Regions from separate parts of the Homo sapiens genome. Here region 2 is linked to region 1. The links are contacts of gene promoters, found by promoter capture Hi-C in blood cells and fetal thymus (Javierre and others, 2016). All regions are on one chromosome and are shown on one strand. The core of a region is centred on a gene start or on the middle of the fragment in contact, and the rest is flanking DNA. Distances in the headings are between cores, read along the strand shown. Region 1 holds the start of CUX2 (cut like homeobox 2). Region 2 overlaps CUX2 (cut like homeobox 2).

The links. Contacts are between HindIII fragments. The CHiCAGO score rates a contact against its expected background, and 5 or more counts as called.
Region 2: a fragment that was not itself captured here is called in contact with the fragment with the promoter of CUX2 in region 1 in 1 of 17 cell types (M1 macrophages); the score reaches 5.1 in M1 macrophages.

Annotation. Positions count from the first base shown.
Region 1 is chr12:111,032,388-111,036,049 of GRCh38, forward strand. It overlaps CUX2 (cut like homeobox 2), which reads left to right and starts at 1,778. Exons shown (of 22, transcript NM_015267.4): 1 at 1,778-1,853. The coding sequence starts at 1,791. The HindIII fragment of the contact is 8,699 bases long and covers 1-3,662 here.
Region 2 is chr12:111,195,766-111,199,427 of GRCh38, forward strand. The region is part of intron 1 of CUX2 (cut like homeobox 2); the gene reads left to right. It overlaps LOC124903018 (a long non-coding RNA gene), which reads left to right. Exons shown (of 2, transcript XR_007063461.1): 2 at 1-3,662. Among named protein-coding and RNA genes, the nearest start is that of MIR6760, 110 kb to the right of the region's middle. The HindIII fragment of the contact is 4,568 bases long and covers 1-3,662 here.

The sequences.
Region 1 (3,662 bases), core at 528-3,027:
ATGATTCTCTCTTCTTTATAACTCTTCTAAACTTTATCTTTTTTATAACCCACTGTATTGATCTATTGTCCCAGACCAAGAGTGATGTCAGAAGTCTAGGCTGGGTCATAAAAAGAATATAATTTCCATTTGCTGTCCATAAAAGCAAATCTTTTGATCAGAGAAAAAGGAAAAACATGTCCCCTTTTTTTGAGTGGGGAAGAGGGTGCGGTGCTATGTATCAGGGGAATAAGCCAGAGAGGAAGGGTGACCTCACCTTTAAGGGTGGTGGCAGGGATAGGCAAGGGGGTTGGTGATGGAGGGGGCTGGGAGTATGAGTTCCCCCTGGAGGTGACATCTCACCTCCAGGGGAAGTGGAAACAGAGGACCTCGAGCTTGCACAGAGGCAAAAACAAACAAACAAACAAACAAACAAACAAACAAAAAAGCAGACAGAAAAATGTAAAACAAGAAATCCAGTCACCCCGGTTGTCAAGAGTCCGAAGAATTGCAAAGGACCGGAACCTCCCTCTAGCCATGCTGAAGACCCTCTCCCCAAAGACAATCACAATAAAGGAATGTCATGTTGCAAAGAACGGAGCCCCGGATAATAATGATGATAACAACAGCAGAAACCTCCGAGGTTTTTAAGGATCCGGAGCCCCCACAGCAGGGGTAGGGCACCCTCAACAGTCATAACAATAAAACAAGCCCACTGGGGGAAAAGGCCCTCCAGAGGTTTGGTTCAGAACCAAATAACAAAACCTCCAATAATCATCATCACAGTAAAAGGGTTTCACCTTGCAAAGCTGTGGGGGAGTCCCTATAATTGGGTTAAAGACCCCCCAGATAATAACAACAGAAATCCCTATTCCAAAGGACCTGAGGCCCCGCCCTCGGCCCCCGCCCGTAAAGAACCCTGAGCTACTACTCAGACGAAGCCCCCCTCCCCGCCAATAATAATAATATAATGGCGCGGAAACTGTGGGCGGTGGTGGTGACATTTCCCACGACTCAGTGGCGCCCCCGGGCGGCTCCCACCCTCCCTCCGGCCGGCGCGTCTACGCAGCCCCAAGTGCTGGCTGCGACCCTCGGATCCCAAGCATATCTGGCGATGGAGCGGCGGCAGCCCGAGGCACGTGTTGTGTGTGCTCCGATTGCAAAAGAAAAAAAAATGCATTTCAAACTATTAACTTTTTTTTAAGCGTGCAATGCCGGGAGCTGGGGGTAGACAGGTGCAAGCGGGGGTAGGCGCCCCGCGCGCCCGCCTCCCGCAGCGCCCCCTCCCAAACTTCCCTTTGCATTGATCAGCACGTTACGTCAGTATTGATAAGTTTGCAAAAAGCCAAAGTCAAGTGCAATCGCGCGGCACACCGACCCCGGACTTGGGGGGGAGATGCAGCGAGCGCTCCGCGGGCCCGGGAGCCGGCGGCAGGCAGGGCAGCGGCGGCGCCGGCGCCTCTCGGAGAGGCTGCCTCCCCCCAACCCCTCCCCTCCCACCCCATCCCCGGCTGCCTCCCCCGGGCGGGCGCCGAGCTCCCCGCCCGGCGCGCTCCGCCCGCGCCCTCCGGGGGTCGGGGGGGCGCACGGCTCCCGGGCCCGTTGGCGGCGGCGGCGGCGGCGGCGCGGCGGCGGCGAGGGGCAGCGGGTGGCAGGAGGCCGGAGGGCGCCCGAGGGGCCCCGGGCCGCGGCGCTCAGGGCCCGGGCGGCCGGCGGCGGCCCCGGGGCTGGGGGGAGTCCAGCCCGGATATTGAGTGCAGCCATTGAGAAAAGCCAAACTCTTGTGTGTGCGCGTCTCGATAGCCCCCAAGATGGCCGCCAATGTGGGATCGATGTTTCAATATTGGAAGCGATTTGATCTACGGCGACTCCAGGTTAGTGCGGGCAGCGCCGGCCGCGCGGCCGTGAGGAGCCCCCGGGCGCGCCCTGGGCGCATTGGGGAGGTCCCCGGGCGGGCAGGCGGACGCCCTGGGGCGGCGGGCGGCGGCTGCCGGGGCTCGCCGGGGCTCGGCCGCCCGCTGCCCATCGATAGGTATTAGGAATTGATCTCGCCGCTGCTCTTTGTTCGGTTCAGTCATCGATTAGCTGCCGCGACCATGGAGAAGCGCTAGTGAGCCCTCGGTCGGCGGAGCGGCCGAGCGGCCAGGCGGCCGGGCGAGGAGCGGGGAAGGCAGGGGCTACGGCCTCGGGCAGGGGGCTGCTGGCGGGAACCCCCGGCGGTCCCCCCTGAGCCGCACTTTGCGCGCCTCCCAACTTCGCGGCGCCCGGGGAGGCCGCGGAGCGCGCCGCTTGCCAGTCCGCACCCGGCTGGGGCTCCGGCGAGGGAGGGAGGGAGCTGGCGGGCAGGGAGGAGGAGGAGGAGAGGAGGAGGAGGAGGAGAGAGGAGGAGGGAGCCGGGGTTGGCGAGGAGGCGGCTCCGCGCCCCGCCGCTCGCCGGCACCTCAGCCTTCGCCGCCCGCCTGGCTGCGCAGCCCGGACGCGCCGCCACCCGGGGGCCGCCGCCGCCGCCGCCAGAGCCGCCGCCGCCGGACTGGCCGCAAGCGCCGGCAGACCTCTTCTCCTCGGGCCGGGGTCTTGGGGTTCGTCTTGCTTCTTGCCTTTACCCCCCCGCCCCTTCCATCCCCTTCCCAAGTCTAGATGCAGACGGGCGGTGGAGGTGGGCCCGGGCGCTCGCAAGTTTGCGCTCCTGCCTCCAGGGCGGTGGAGAGCCGGGAGCGGCGCAGAGCAGGTGACTCCCAGCCCTCGGGCCCAAGGGAACTTTTAAATGAGAGATTTCCTTGCTTGTTCTGCCTCCTGCGTTTCTCCCCGCTGCTCCCCTCGTCTCCTCTCTCCCGTCTCTGCTTTTCTTCTGTTTCTTTCCTCTCTTCCCTGCTCTTTCTCTCTCCTTCCCTAGGGCGACTCTTCGAAACCCCATCACTTTCTCCCCATCCTCCCTTTGTGGGAGTCTGTGTGCCTCCCCTAGATTTGGAGGTGTTCTCTGCGGACCCCGTAGGAGCCGGGGCTGGGAGGTGGAATCTCAGAGAACGCACCGTGGAGGCGCGGCTCCGGCCTCTGTTCTTTCCCGGAGTGCCCCGGACGCGCCTGGCAAGGCCCCCCAGCCTTGGAGTCTCGCAAAGTCTCGGCGGGTGCGGCGGGGATCAGGGGCGGGAAAATGGTGCGGATAACAGGGCGGTTAGAGCATCCTGCCTTGACCGTGACATTCGCGGAAGACGCGAGATCATCAGTCTGGAGATAAAAAGGGACCCACTTTTTTTTTTTTTTTTAATCCGCCGGCAAATCTCGTTAAGTTTCTTCTGATAAGTGGTTCCAGCACCCGCGCCTTCTCCCCGTCCTGGCCGCTTCCCAGTCCCCGTCCTTCCGAACGCCCCACTCCTCGCTCTCCCCCTCCCCCAAAGCCATTGAGCTGGGGAGAAAATCGGGGCACTGAGGCATGCAGTTAATAACTGCCGAGTGCCTTGCAATTCCGGGTCCGCACTCGAGTTGGGGCTACAGTTTGGTGGCCAACTGAGACGGGCAGGGCTGCGAGCTGTGCCTGCCGGCTTAAATGATGCTAAAGTGGCCTTTCTGGAAGAGTGGGGGTTATGGAGGCAGAGAGAGAGAGAGAGAGGGAGAATTGGGCAGCCACATTGGGCTTGGCACGAAGGCCAATGGTAATCGTATTCCCTGCTAATGTTTGTAAATGA
Region 2 (3,662 bases), core at 790-3,289, 160 kb after region 1:
TCTCAAAGCCAGCACAAGCCTTATGAATATGAGGAGTGGCTGCTAAGCCTAGCTTCCCCTACCTCCTCATTTCTTTTTTTTCCAGCAGCTTTATTGAGATATAATTGATATGCCATGAAATTCACCTATTATACATGTACAACACAATCGATTTAGTATATTTATGGAGTTGTACAACCATCACCACATCCAGTTTTAAAACATTTCTGTCACCCCAAAAAAGATCTTTTGGGTCCTTTTCCAGTCACTGTCTGATCCCACTCCCAGCCCCAGGAAACCACAAATCTATTTGCTGTATCCATAGATTTGCCTTTTCTGGTCGTTTCGTACAAATGGGATTATACAATCTGTGGTCTTTGTATCAGCTTCTTACATTAGGTATAATGTTTCCAAGGTTTGCCCATGTGGTAACATGTATGAGTATTTTGTTCTCTTGATTGCTAAATAATATTCCATTGTATGGATAGACCACGTTTTATCCGTTCATCGGTTGATGGGCATGTGGGTTGTTTGTACTTTTTGGCTGTTGTGAATAGCACTGCTGTGAAAGTTTGCACGCAGATCTTTGAACACATGTTTTCGATTCTCTTGGGTAGAGGAGTGGAATTGCTGGGTCATAAGATACATTTATGTCTAACTTATTAAGAAACTGCCAAACTGTTTTTCTGAAGTGGCTGTACCATGTTGCATTCCCACCAGCAGTATCTGGGCTTAGTATTGTCTTTGTTGATATTTGAGGTTGCATTTTTGGTCCCTGGTTTCAATGAGAATTTGGGCTGGGAATTCTGGGAGCCACTGGAGCTTGAAGAAATGAATGGCAGGTGGGGGGCATACAACAAAATCGCACATCCTCAGGTGTTCTAAAACAGCACTGTCCCATAGAACATGTAGATGATATATATCTGAACCATCCTGTACGGTAGCCACTACCCGTTGTGGTTACTGAGCACATGACTATGGCTTGTGCAACCGAGGAACTGAATTTGTGATTGCATTTCATTTAAATTAACGTAGAAGTACTAAATTTAAATAACTACAGGAGGCTAGTGGCTGCTGTATTGGACAGTGCAGTTCTAGAAGTTCAGGATCACCACTCAGTATGTTCTGGGTCCTTGAATCTTTCAGAGGATTGAGCAGAGTTCAAACCTTTTAATCATACATAGCTGGAATAGGCGTGGGGCTCAGGGACTAGGGGCTGCATGTACAGGAATATTGTGTCTAGATGGTGCTCAGTGACTCAGAGAAGAGGGGATTTAAATTGGGGCATCTTGTAGAGGCACTAAAAGAGAGTGGACGGGCTCTGGAGCTAGGAGGACCCAGGTGCAAATCCTAGCCCTGTTGCTTCCCAAGCCTGAGACCTGGGGCAACTGACCTATTCCCTCCTAGCCTCAGTTTTCTCATCTGCAAAATGGAAGTACTAATATCTCTCTCGAAGGACTGCTGTGAGGCTCAGAGAATAATTCCTCTAAATCCCCTAGCTCAGTGCCTACCACTTAGTCAGTGTGGGAAAGGATCAGCTTCTGTTATTGTTATCTTTATTGTTGGTACTATTCTGCCTGGCCCCCAGGACTGGATCAATGCCATGTCAGCCCAGAATCCCATCCTCATCCGTGAAAGCTGGGATGTTAGACTGTCAGCATCACACAGGCAGGGACTTTGCGGTGGCCACTGTTGGATCCCCAGTGCCTGGAACAGTGCCTGGCACAGAGGGGATGCTCCTTACATGTTTGTTGAATGAATAAATGCGTACATGCTACTGGCTTGTTGGCAAGCAGCGTGTAGGCATCTTGAGGGTTCCTGGAGAAAACAACACCCTCCTTCAGAAATGTGACTTGAAAAATAGCACTGGGTTCAATGCCAGTGGCGGCCTGTCTTGAGTGAAGGCAGAGACAGCTTCCCTGTCCTTAAATGGCTTCATCCAGCTGGAGCGTGGCTGTGGCTCAGGCCAGTCTAAGGTCATCCAAGGCGGGTGGTAGAATGGGTGAGGCTTGGCCAGGTCAGATCCACCTCCCACCACCAGGGAGCCATAGGAGAGGTTCACACAGTGAAATAACACAGCCCCAAAATGTGCATGGGTTTACATACAGGTAATTCTCCCAGGCCCTAAAACATCAGGATGTGCTCACTTTTCCCACAGCAGTGCCCCCACTCAAGCCTGTTTGGGGGAACCCAGTGGTTTCATCCCTTTCATCTGGAATTTCCTGCTACCCTCACTTCTTTCTTCCCTTTCTTGCTGCTGTTCTTGATCTCTCCTTCCCCACCCTGGACCCTAAAGTGAGATATTTCCATTCTTCCAGAATTATAATTTTTTTGTTTTATTTATGTGAAATATTCTTTAGTTATCAAAATCTTTTCATACTCATTATTGTCATTCCGTGGGCAGAGAAACTTGGTGAGGTGAATATTCATTTAAAAATTGTCTATTAAGGCCAGGTGCGGGTGGCTCATGCCTGTAAGCCCAGCATTTTGGGAGGCCGAGGTGGATAGATCACTTGAGTTCGGGAGTTTGAGACCAGCCTGGCTAACATGGCAAAACCCCATCTCTACTGTAATACAAAAATTAGCCGGGTGTGGTGGTGAACACCTGTAATCCTAGCTACTCAGGAGGCTGAGGTGGGAGAATCGCTTGAACCTGGGAAGCGGAGGTTGCAGTGAGCCGAGATTGTGCCACTGCACTCCAACCTGAGGTACAGAGTGAGACCCTGTCTCAAAAAAAAAAAAAAAAGTGTCTATTGGGTTTGGACCAGGCACTGGCCTAGATGCTGGAGCTATGGAGGTGAACAAAACAGACAAGAGTCCCTGCCCTCCCGGAGCTTTAGTCCTAGGAAGGAGGCTGATATTAAATATGCAGATAACTATCTTTGCAAATGATGTTGAATGCCCTGTGGAAAAGGAGGAAGGAGAAAGTGGATCTGCTTTAGAGGCAGGGGTGCCAGTGGGGCCAGCGAGGGCCCTGCTGAGAAGGTGGCAGCACTGGGGGGGATGGGGAGGGATTGCAGGCTGCAGGTACTGCACATGCAAATGCCCTGAGGTGAGAAAGAGGCTGGCTCATCGGAGGCCCAGGAGCAGCAGGTGTAGCTGGAGTGCATAGAGTTGGGCAGAGAGGGGCCCCCCTAAGGTATAGGAAGCTGTGAGCAGTAGCCTGGCCCTCTAGGCCCAGTGAGAAGTCTGATTTCAATCTAAGACCATGGCAAAAATCATGGACAAGTTTCAAGCCAAGGAAAGAGAAGAGATGATTCACGTTTTGAGCGACTCACTCCATCCACCATGTGGAAAATGCAGGCAAGGGTGGGTGCGGAGAGAGAAGGGAGGAGGCCTCGGAAATAATCCAGGCAGGGGAGGGTAGCAGCTTGGACAAAGGCGGCAGTGGGAGTGGGTATTATTTCTGGACGTTGGCGGGATTGAAGAGACGTGGCTGGGATTCGTTCAACATCACTATTATTCTAGTGGTACAAGTGAGGACACTGAAGCTCGGAGAGGCACGCTGACTTGCCCTGGGGTTAGAGCTAGCAAGAGCAGCAAGCAGGATTCGAACTCGGGCTTTCCTGGTGCTGGAATCTGCATTCTGTACTTCAGTACTACTCTGGGCAGCTCAGTGTGGTATCCAGCCCCATCTCTCTAGCTGAAATGATGCCCACAAACATTATCCCCATTGCGCAGAT